4 separate regions of the Homo sapiens genome follow, and all the other regions are linked to region 1. The links are contacts of gene promoters, found by promoter capture Hi-C in human tissues and cell types (Jung and others, 2019). All regions are on one chromosome and are shown on one strand. Each heading gives the region's core, a stretch centred on a gene start or on the middle of the fragment in contact. The rest is flanking DNA. Distances are from core to core; before and after follow the strand shown. Region 1 holds the start of TBX10 (T-box transcription factor 10). Region 2 holds the start of ALDH3B2 (aldehyde dehydrogenase 3 family member B2). Region 3 has its middle 24 kb from the start of ALDH3B2. Region 4 has its middle 10 kb from the start of GSTP1.

Evidence for each region. The method cuts DNA at HindIII sites, captures the fragments that hold promoters and counts their contacts. A contact is called where the count stands out against the background at its distance.
Region 2: a contact is called between the fragment with the promoter of ALDH3B2 here and the fragment with the promoter of TBX10 in region 1, in 1 of the 25 tissues and cell types used here (liver).
Region 3: a contact is called between a fragment that was not itself captured here and the fragment with the promoter of TBX10 in region 1, in 2 of the 25 tissues and cell types used here (H1 embryonic stem cells and thymus).
Region 4: a fragment that was not itself captured here is called in contact with the fragment with the promoter of TBX10 in region 1 in 1 of the 25 tissues and cell types used here (spleen).

The regions. Positions count from the first base shown.
Region 1 is chr11:67,638,421-67,641,120 of GRCh38, reverse strand. TBX10 (T-box transcription factor 10) reads left to right here and starts at 1,358. Exons shown (of 8, transcript NM_005995.5): 1 at 1,358-1,655. The coding sequence starts at 1,649. The HindIII fragment of the contact is 9,108 bases long and covers 1-1,979 here.
Region 2 is chr11:67,673,176-67,675,950 of GRCh38, reverse strand. ALDH3B2 (aldehyde dehydrogenase 3 family member B2) reads left to right here and starts at 1,328. Exons shown (of 10, transcript NM_001393402.2): 1 at 1,328-1,515. The HindIII fragment of the contact is 24,145 bases long and covers 1-2,775 here.
Region 3 is chr11:67,697,545-67,700,244 of GRCh38, reverse strand. No RefSeq gene overlaps it. Among named protein-coding and RNA genes, the nearest start is that of ALDH3B2, 24 kb to the right of the region's middle. The HindIII fragment of the contact is 5,827 bases long and covers 1-2,700 here.
Region 4 is chr11:67,592,528-67,595,240 of GRCh38, reverse strand. No RefSeq gene overlaps it. Among named protein-coding and RNA genes, the nearest start is that of GSTP1, 10 kb to the right of the region's middle. The HindIII fragment of the contact is 3,217 bases long and covers 1-2,713 here.

The DNA of each region.
Region 1 (2,700 bases), core at 109-2,608:
ACCCACCATGCCATGGCCAGGGCAGATGACTACACCTTGTTGTATAGCCTCAAGGGGCTGCTGGGACCCTCCAACTCACACAGAGCACTCCCATCTTGCCTGGCAGCAACTCCAAAGTGCTGGCAGCCTTTTCTCACACAGCCGGGCATGGGGTTGGGCCAGGGGCCGGCCCTCCTCCTTTTACATCCCCCAGAGCCAGCCCACCGTCTTTGTGTGGGGTCCCATCCAGCTCTGCAGGCTGAGATGTGAGACACAAGGGATTGAGCCACAGGCATCCCTGAGCTGCAGCTGCGCCCAGAACATAGCGCTCAGGGAGAAGCAGCCCTGCCGCCCCCCAGCCCCTCCATGCCCCCTCTTAGGAATCAAGGCCACTGCCAACCCAGCATCCCCAAGACAGGATTCTGGAGGAGGTATGGGGGGCTCCAGCCAGACGACCCACTCTGTGCCATTCAGCAAGAGTCAAAAGGCCAGCGAGCACTCTCAACCAAGGAACTGGCAGCCTCTCAGGGGGACCTCCAGGTTCTGCCTCCCTGCAGAGTGATCCATGTGTCCCCTGAATGCCCAGCACAGGCTGTAGACAACCTGGAGAGGGTGCCCGGTCAGGCCAGAGAGAACAGACAGACCCACAGGCAGAGCGGACGCCCACTTCTCACCTGGGCCAGCCTCACCGTTTCCACTCATGTCCAGATGGGGATTCCGTGGACACCATCAGCCAGGGCAGTGCCCCCAGTTCCAGGCGGGATGGGCTTACCGCTCTCCAGGCTGGGCTAGACCATCACAGGCGGAAGAGATTATGTGCTTAGGTTAACTGGGGAGGCTGAGGCACGGAGACTGTGGGACCTGCCAGCGTTGCGCAGCTCCCTGAGTTCATCCATGTGTCTGTGCGTGTGGGTTCACGTGCCACAGGACCTGGGCTTCCCGCCATCCAGTCTGGGGCTCTATGCTGACTGCACTCGTTGCTGCTGCCCCCTTGCGTTTCCTGCTCACACTGCTCCTGACAATTGCGCATCTGCCGGCCGGCTGGGGCCAGCCTCAGGTCAGGGGTCTGGGTCTTGGTGGGAGGGCACCTCCTCCGCCATTCAGCCCGCAATCTGCTGCTCCCACTGTGCCTCCCAACCCCCGGGGCCCCAGCCCCTCCAGTCAGCCAGGCCTGGACCCCTGCAGATGCCCAGCCGTCCTCAAGAACCACTCTCCCACCCCCTCACCCCTGCCACGCCTGGGCCCATCGATCAGGAATGGCTGGGGGGCTCTTAGCTGGGGAAGGGAGGAACTTGAAGAGGGAGGACAAGGAGGGAGGAAGGGGGGCTCTGCAACGTCAGAACCTTCCCACCTGCCCTCCTCCCGCACAGCCTTGGACAGCACAGCCCGAGAGTGGCTTGGAGAAGGGCCGCTGCACGCCCCAGAGCCTGCATCTCACCTTCGGAGACCAGGGGTCCAGCTCGAGTAGGAAGACCACGACCTCAGGACGTGGACGAAGGGCGATCGAGGAGGCAAGGACCGTCCTGCCGAGAGACTACAGCTTGTGTGAGCACCTGAGGGCTGAGCTGAGGTGCCGAGTGGACGAGTGGTGACCACCCCTTCCAGCAGGCAGGTTCCCAGCCCCAGCCAAGCAGTGTTTCTCCAGGAGCCGGACAGCCTCTCTGTCTCCATGGCAGGTAGGCTACGTTCTGAAGCAGAGGTGGCCTCATGGGTCAGGCTCAGGTTCCAGGGTGGGTGGGCAGGGTGGGAACCAAGACAGCCCCGCTGAACCCAGGTCCTTCACAAGAGGGTGGGGCAGGGGCACCCCAGGCTAAGGTCTGAGATCCCAACGGGACAGGGCTCACGGCTGCCCAAGTGCAATTATGGGAGATGCCAGGGACCAGGCTGTTCCGGGAGATGAGCGCCTCACTGGGCACGTGTGACCTCGGGCCTCTCCCTGAGCCCCAGCTCCTTGAGCATCAAAGTTGGGGCTGGACAAGAAGCCCTTAGCTTCCCTTCCAGACTTGACACTCGATGCTTCTGGCAAGCTGTCATCTCTGGGCCCTGAGGAATGCTGGCTTCTAGAGGGACTGAGCAAAGGACAGGCTCCCCCCACCAGAGTCCCTGAAAGTGTTGAGGGGCAGCACATTGGCTGCGACGGGCAGCGGGTGAGCCCCTAGAGGACTTGGGAGCCAGTGACCACCGGCAAAGCCTCCAGGCCCAGTGAAATCATGAGCCCCCCCACCTTGGGACCCATTGCCATGGACCCAGGGGGGCTGGCATCACCTGGATGACGTACCCGCCCCAGCAGGGCAGCCGGGCGACAACCAGCTACCCTTCTGATGGACTGGCCACAGGGGCAGGGGGACATCAGCCCATCTATCCATCCTGCCCAGGGTCCTCAAACCTGATGTGACCCATCCCTGTCACAAAGACGCCCCCTCCCCCGCGAGGCTGCAGAAATCCCAGGGCCTTTGCACGCAGCTCTCAGGGCTGCTGAGGACGTGGCCATGGCCCTGGGCTCCACATTCTCCCCAGGCACCTACTAAGAGCTCACCCTGGCCAGGTGCCGTCCACCTGGTACCTCAGCAGATGCTATGCCACCTGGGGGCCTCCGTCACCCGCCTGTCTGCCAGTTCATCCATCTCTCCAACACCCAGCACCCCCCTCTGCTCCAGGCATCCCATAGTCTTACAGTCGTGTAAATATCCCAAAGCCACTCGGGTGGGGACACAGCTGGGA
Region 2 (2,775 bases), core at 79-2,578, 35 kb before region 1:
AACAATTGCTACTGAGGTTGAGCATATTTTAATTTATTTACGTCTATTCAGGCTTCTTGTCAGTTCAGTTTAACAAAACAAAACAAAACAGCTTATTGAGATAGCATTCACATCCCATACAACTCACCCATTTACAGTGTACAATTCAGTGGTTTGGAGGCAGTGGGCCTCCCCAGTGGCCATAACCCATCTGCTGCTCTTAGATGGGCCTTAGCATTCTGCCCTGTATTCCCTTCCCCATCCCGAGGTCCCTTCCTGGTGTCACATTGGCATTTACATCTTTAGCTACCGAAGATTCCAGGGCCAGGGCTTGGTCTCAGGCTGTGGCCTCCGCTGGGCTGTCTCCAGTCACAACCAAGGGTTATCTCAGATGTCCCTCCTGCCCACAGGGCTGCACACTCTGCCAAGAGACTCTCTACAGCCCTCAGCAGGGCGTGTCCTTGGTCTCAGGCTTGGGGGAAGGTGGGGTGGGGACAGAGTCAGGCCATCCATGAAGGACAGTGGCAGGACCTGAGCTCATTCTGCTCCCTGGAACCTAGAAGGTGCTCAGCAAATACTTGTGGAAACATTAGCGGGCAACATTGAGGGGCACTGATTTTGTGCCAGGAGCTGTGATCTGCCTTTTCCATTCTCACGTCTCCCTCTGTGACCCTCTCAAGAACCATGGCAATTAGGTGTTATTGTTACTTCCGAAAGGCTCAGAGACGTTAAGTAACCTACCCACGGTTGCACAGTAAATAAATAAACCAATGAACAATGCGCCATCCTAGAGCTACAGGTGCCGTCGCCCATCAAGGGTCTCTCTGCAAAGATCTGAGCCCCTTCCTCTGCCCTGAGTATGCCAGCTGGGCACACTGAGAGTGGAAATAGAGCCACAGTTGCTCATCTTGACCTGTGAAGCCTGAAGAGTGAGGACAGGAGAGGAGGGAGATGAAGATTTAGCATAGAGACCCTAGGAGGGGCCATGGGGGGCATGGGACCACTGTGGCTGGGGCCTGGGAGGACTTCCTGGCGAAGGCAGCATTTGCCACCAGGATCCTGCTGATATTTTCATCCTGTGACCTTCCCCTGGGGTTCTTTTTTCCTGATCAGGTAACTCCCTGCTAGCCCATTCCAGGAAACACAGAGCAAAGCCTCAGACAGCCTTGACTTGTCTAACCTGTTCCCAAGCCGGCTGTGCAGTGTGGTCCCTGGGGGCAGGGCCCTGGAAGAACAGGGCAGACACCGAGCAGCTATAGGTCCTGGCAGTGAGACAAGGGTAGGCATGGGAATTGGGAGGTGCAGCCCTGCCCCACGCCTGTTGGGTAACACTGAGCATCACCCCATTGATTACCCCATTGCCAGGCGTGGGCACGGGAGTTGGTTTGGGAGCTGCCAGTCTCCTGGGAGGATCGCAGTCAGCAGAGCAGGGCTGAGGCCTGGGGGTAGGAGCAGAGCCTGCGCATCTGGAGGCAGCATGTCCAAGAAAGGGAGTGGAGGTGCAGCGAAGGACCCAGGGGCAGAGCCCACGCTGGGTTATGTGGGGCCACAGGGGTGAGGGGCGGGCAGAGGGAGCTCAGGGTAAAGGACACTGGTGGGAACCAGGGGCATGGAGGGAAGGGGATGTGTGCCCATGGCCCGTGGGTCAGGGGGCAAGCCCACCAAGGGGCCTATGGCTGCAGGGGCCATGGGTACGGGGCTTGCTCAGGAGAGGGAGGTGGGTGCTGGTGTCTTCTGAGCCTCACTTTGCCCTTTGGCAGGCTCCTGGGAAGCAGCCACAGAAATGAAGCCTGTTCCCCAGGAGCCCCAGGGATGGGGACAGACCCCGTCCTCCCTTTGAGGAGCTCCCAGGTTAGAGGAGAAGGCAGCTCTGTGGACAGACAAGGATTGGGTCGGGGGCACCAGGGCTGTGATCAGGAGGTGCCGGAGAATCGGGGATTGGAAGCAGAGAGATTCTTGGCAGTTGAAGCGAAAGTCGGATCTTTGGTTTCAGATGTTAAAAGCAACATGCATTGCTTGTTTCTGGTTCTAGAAATACTACATTCGCATTTAGAAAGTCTGGAAGCTGCAGGAAGATGTTGAGAAGACAGTGAAAGGCACGAGGCACACATTGGCACATGGTGTCACAAGGCTGGTGTGAGGAGAGGGGCTGGGGGGCCTCCCTCCTCGCACTGAGGCTGTGAGGAGGGCAAATCAAGTCGTCTCTGGGAGCCTCGGTTTCCCTGTCCTTCCAACTGGGTAATAATAATAGCTGTGAGGCTCAGATGAGATGTGCATGCCAGCTACCTGGCCCCAGATGCCAGCTCTGACTTCTTTCTGGGCCCTGCACCAGGCATGGCCACTGCCAAGGGAATGAGTCCCCTCTCCATATGACAGGTCCCATCAGGCCTCCACCTTCCTGTGTGTCTTATTTCTCAGCATCTGCCCCCACAGGGCTTTTGCACACGTTGGTCCCTCTGTCCAGATCACCTGCCCTCCAAGAGGCCCTCCCCTACGGCTTCCCCGCAGCAGTCAGAGCCAGGGGTGGGTCTCTGGCCACCTCTGGAAGAAGCCCTGGCCCACCGATCATGTTTGTAATGATATTGTTTCCGGTGTCATTGTTCCGTGTGTAGACTGTGAGCTCCATGGGGGCTGGCCAAGTCTGGGGTGGTCACCTATGGGACCCAGGTCCAGTCAGGAACTGCCTGGTGAGCAGCCAGAGGTCCCCAGTGTAAACCCAGAAAATCTGAGACGGGTCTCAGTTAATTTATAAAGTTTATTTTGCCTGTAATCCCAGCACTTTGGGAGGCCGAGGCG
Region 3 (2,700 bases), core at 167-2,666, 59 kb before region 1:
GGGGCCGCGGGAGCTACAAGTACCAGCAATTCGTGAAAAGAAATAAAATCATCAGGGGGTGACATTAAGCCAAAGTCACCGGAGTTAGATATTGAATCCTCAACATTCTCAGGTTGGGGAGGAGTAGGTGAAGGGAGAAGCTGAGCAGATAACAAAGGCCGAGTGGGAGAGGAAAGCTGAGGAAGAGGTAGAGGGTCTCCAGATTCAGAAAACTGTGGTAACTGCAGGGGGTCACAGGATTGGTATGTCATTAGGATGGCACGTACCAAGGCCCAATCACCCCAAACAGTGACGGGAGCATAATTTCCTGTTGGGACCGGTTCCCGGAATTTTGCACCAACACAATCCCAAAGTTCCACATCTAACGTTCCCTTTTGAGGAAACCAAGGACAGTGTTCTTCCACCGCCCTGAAATGGGTGACCATATTTTCCATGGGTACCCAAACTCCTCCCTGTTTTAACAGGAGTTTAATATAGCAGAGATAAGCATAATGTTTAGATTCTGCATGACTCATAGTTACCCCGGACAATACACAGACAACTCACCAGTTGTCAGGGAGCCGAACAAGGGTTTCTGTGGACCGGACCGATGAACGTTTCTACATACCTACCAAAGGGAATCGGGTTCCCACATGCACTTAGGAAAAAGAAAACCACGTTGGTGTGCCAGATATTGGGGGAACCCACCCCCAATATTTCAATGTAGGTTCTTTCTATTTTCCATAAGTGTCGGCTGGCTGAGAAATAGAGAGACAGTATAAAGAGAGGAATTTTACAGCTAGGCTGCCGGGGTGACATCACATATCAGTAGGACCATGAGGCCTGCCTGATCCTCAAAACCAGCAAGTTTTTCTTAAGGGTTTCAAAAGGGGAGGGGGTGTGAGAACAGGGAGTAAGTACAAAGATCACATGCTTCAAAGGGCAAAAAGCAGAACCACTAATAAGGGTCTAACAAAGATCACAAGGCAAAGGGCAAAAGCAGAACTACTGATAAGGGTCTATGTTCAGCAGTGCATATATTGTCTTGATAGACATCTTAAACAACAGAAAAGAGGGTTCAAGAGCAGAGAACCAGTCTGACCACAAATTTACCAGGGCAGAGTTTTTCCCCACCCTGGTAAGCCTGAGGGTACTGCAGGAGACCAGAGCATATCTCAGTCCTTATCTCAACTGCACAAGACAGACATTCCCAGAGCGGTTATTATAGACCTCCCCCAAGGAATGCATTCCTTTCCCAGGATATTAATCTTAATATTCCTTGCTAGGAAAAGAATTTAGCAATATGTTTCCTACTTGCATGTCCGTTTATAGGCTCTCTGCAAGAAGAAAATATGGCTCTTTTTGCCTGACCCCACAGGCAGTCAGACCTTATGGTTGTCTTCCCTTGTTCCCTAAAAATCACTGTTATTCTGTTCTTTTTCAAGGTGCACTGATTTCATATTGTTCAAACACACATGTTTTACAATCAATTTGTACAGTTAACACAATTATCACAGTGGTCCTGAGGTGATGTACATCCTAGCTTATGAAGATAACAGGATTAAGAGATTAAAGTAAAGACAGGCATAAGAAATTATAAAAGTATTATTTGGGAACTGATAAATGTCCATATTAAAATGAAATCTTCACAATTTATGTTCCTATGGCACGGCTCCAGCTGGTCACTCCGTTCAGGGTCCCTGATTTCCTGCAACAGCAACTCTGTTCAGAAGAGGGCAGGACAGACAGTGGCAGGCCTCATCAGAACCCGAAGGCCATGCAGAACCTTCTCATGACAGCCTCCTGGGGGAGACAGGGAGCCAACGGGAGTGGTAGCAGCTCCTACAGGCCTCCCACTCTCTGGAGGATCACAAAGTGTCCTGTCATGACTCAGATGAGCCTCAGTTTGAGCTTTCGCCTCTGTAGCCTGTGTGGATATGTTCAGGGCCACCAGGGTGCCATGGTGGAGCCGTTCCCTACACAGCCTGGAGGGCTTGTGTGAAGTGGCTGTTTATAATGAGCAGACTTAGGAGAAATTGAATAAAGAGGTTTTCATGAAATGTGTAAGTGGGAATATGTTGCCTCAAAAATCCAAGTAGCCCCAACAAACGTTATTAGAAAGCCTGTCTTAGTCTGCAAATTAACACCACAAATTGGACAACTGATAAAAGAAATTTATTTCTCCCAGTTTTGGAGGCTGGGAAGTCCAAGAGCATGGTGCTGGCTTTGGGCAAGGGTCATCTTGTGGCAGAAGGGTGTAAGGCAGAAGCAAGCATGTGAGACAGGGAGGAAATCAGGCCGACCTCACTTTTATAACACACCCAGTCTCGTGATCACTAACCTACTCCTGCCATAACAGGATTAATTAATTCATGGGGGCAGAGCCTTCATGACCTAATCGCCTATGGAGGGTCCCCTCCACGACATTGTTACAATGGCAATTACATTTCCTTTTTTGTTTGTTTGAGATGAGTCTCTCCTCCCAGTTTGCCAGTAAAGCTCCTCTTTCGACTGTGTAGCCGTCCTGGTGGTCTTTTGGATGACAGTTAGGACAATTTTTTTCCTTGACCTGAGTCATTTTATCTTCACCTTTTGTAATTAGGGATATTTTAGGGGGGGGGTTTATTTAATTTTTTTCTCCAGGGAGTCTCAGTGTGCATGACCATGTCACGGCAGTGAGGACAGCAGCAGTAATGTACCTGCTTGCCGAGCCCTGAGGAA
Region 4 (2,713 bases), core at 90-2,589, 46 kb after region 1:
TAGCTGTAGCATTAATAATACACTAATGTAAAGGTAGAATTTAGTTTTCTCTTTTAAACGAGATTTTCATGTAGTAGTAATAAGAGATTGTAAAAGATTTTTGTTTGCCTTTTGAGCAAACTGCAAAGTGAAAAAAATAAAAAAAGAGGAGCGAGTTTGCCTTATGCTTCCTTCATTAGGTCTTTGGATTGTTTAGAAAACTGAGTCTCCTCTCTATCAAACAATAAAGGTTTTTGCTTTCGGAAATCTTTTTTTTTTTTAGATGGAGTTTCGCTCTTTTTGCCCAGGCTACAGTGCAATGGTGCGAACTTGGCTCAATGCAACCTTCCCCCCACCCCCCGTGTTCAAGCGATTCTCCTGCCTTAGCCTCTTGAGTAGCGGGGATTACAGGCACCTGCCACCATGCCCAACTAATTTTGTATTTTTAGGGGAGACAGGGTTTCACCATGTTGGCCAGACTGGTCTCGAACTCCTGACTTCAGGTGATCCTCCCACCTTGGCTTCCCAAAGTGCTGGGATTACAGATGTGAGTCACCACACCCAGCTTTTCTGAAATCTTTCAGTTATCACTTTGGCTAAATGAATGACTATTATTTTGAAGTTCCCCATGATTCTATTTTGAACAAGTCTTTTAAACCTTTTCTATTTTAATATCAAGTGTTTTAAAGCTTTGGTATTTGACAAACTTCCAAAAATGAAAATTCAAATTCTAAATTAAGCCATTTTGACCTCAAACTAACGTTTCAACATTTGAAAAAGAAAAAAAAAACCCATGTAAGTTCAAGAGAACTTGGTATTATTTGGCATGTAAAAATTACACAGCAAGCATTGTCAAAAAAGAAATGACATTTAACTTTCTTTGAGTTATATTTGTGAAATGTGTTATTAATATGTGTTCCAAAATTATATGAGATTCCTAAAAATCTGATATGTGTTGGTATATATTATCAGTCATTATTGTAAGTATTGTGTTGAATTATAGTGATACGGAAGGGGGGCAGGGAAGTGCTGGGTAGAGGAATGTGTAGTCCCTGGCTAGGGCTCCACCCCCAGGCCTGTGCCCATGGACCTGGGTGAAGACAGGCATTTTTGTTTTCCTGCCCAAATATTGCATTTCCAAAGAGCACCCTGGCCCACCACACCCATATCCTGTGCCTATAAAAACCCTGAGACCCTAGCAAGCAGACACACAAGCAGCTGGACGTGGAGAGGAACACATTGGCAGAAGAAGACACAAGTGGCTGGACGTTGAGAGGTCATTGAGGGGTGCCAGCTCTGTCCCACAGACCCTGGCCAACAGAGGAAATGAGTACCCAGACACAGGTATGCAGTGTTAAGAGCAGCTAGGTGACTGCCTGGCTCTAGTGGAAGAAGCTGGAGCTGCTTTGCTTTTATTCAGTGCAGGCACAATGTCGAAAACCTGGAGCCGACACAATCTGTAAGTCATTAATATTTATTATTCCCCTTTCAGGGAACCTCATGTTCCCTGAAACATGATCATAGGTGATCATAGATGATCTAAGGTCAGTTCCTGGTCGACATAAGTAAACATGCCTATTTAAGATAAAATCCCCCATACTCCCTTGTACCTACTCCTTGCCCTCTGCCTCAGGGTTATAGAAGAGCTGCCTTCAGTTCTTCTCCCCCAGGGCTCTGCAGAACCTTCCCACCTTTCAGAAGGTTTGCGTCCTTTCCCTATAGTTCTTCCCACCTCTCTGACCAATCTGCCACAGAAGGGAGCAGGCTGGTGGAAGAGCACACGACAGACGCCAGCATGCCGGCAGGCCATCCACCTGCAGAACGAGGCGGAGTTTGGCCGGGCAGTCAAAGGCAAGCCCAGGCCGCTGAGCAGCCTGACTCCAGGGCAAAACCTTCCCACTCCATGCCCTTCTGGCTTCCTCCAACTGCTGAGAGTTACCTCCACTCAATAAAACCTTGCACTCATTCTCCAAGCCCAGGTGTGATCCTATTCTTCCAGTACACCAAGGCAAGAACCTGGGATACAGAAATCCCTCTGTCCTTGTAACAAAGCAGAGGGTCTAATTGAGCTGCTGGTTAACACAAGCTGCCTATAGATGGCAAAACTAAAAGAGCACCCTGTAACACATGCCCACTAGGGCTTCAGGAGCTGTAAACATCCACCCCTAGATGCTGCCGTGGGTTGGAGCCCCACAACCTGCCCATCTGTATGCTCCCCTGCAGGTCTGAGCAGCGGGGCACTGAAGAAGCGAGCCACTCCCCCATCACATGCCCTGCAAGGGGGACAAGGGAACCCTTCCCGTTTCAGTAGGCCACAAAAAAATAAAATGACCAAATTTCTTTGTTGATTGCATCTTTGACCATGACTACTTTAAATCTTGCCCTATTCCTTCTTGGAGAGCTCCCTCCAATCTTCATGGAAACTAATGAACCCATTTCACTGGTCAAATAATTCAGTTTATTTGTAACGTATGGCTGATTTTTCAACATTTCCATTGTCCATACCACCCTCAGTCTTCCAGACTTGTGAAATGCACAAATAATAAAAATCAAATTGGCAAAGCTTATAGAAACTTTTTTTTTTTTTGAGACAGTCTCCCTCTTGTCGCTCAGGCTAGAGGGCAGTGGCGCGATCTCAGCTCACTGCAACCTCCGCCTCCCAGGTTCAAGCAATTCTCCTGCCTCAGCCTCCTGAGTAGCTGGGATTACAGGCACCCACCACCATGCCCAGCTA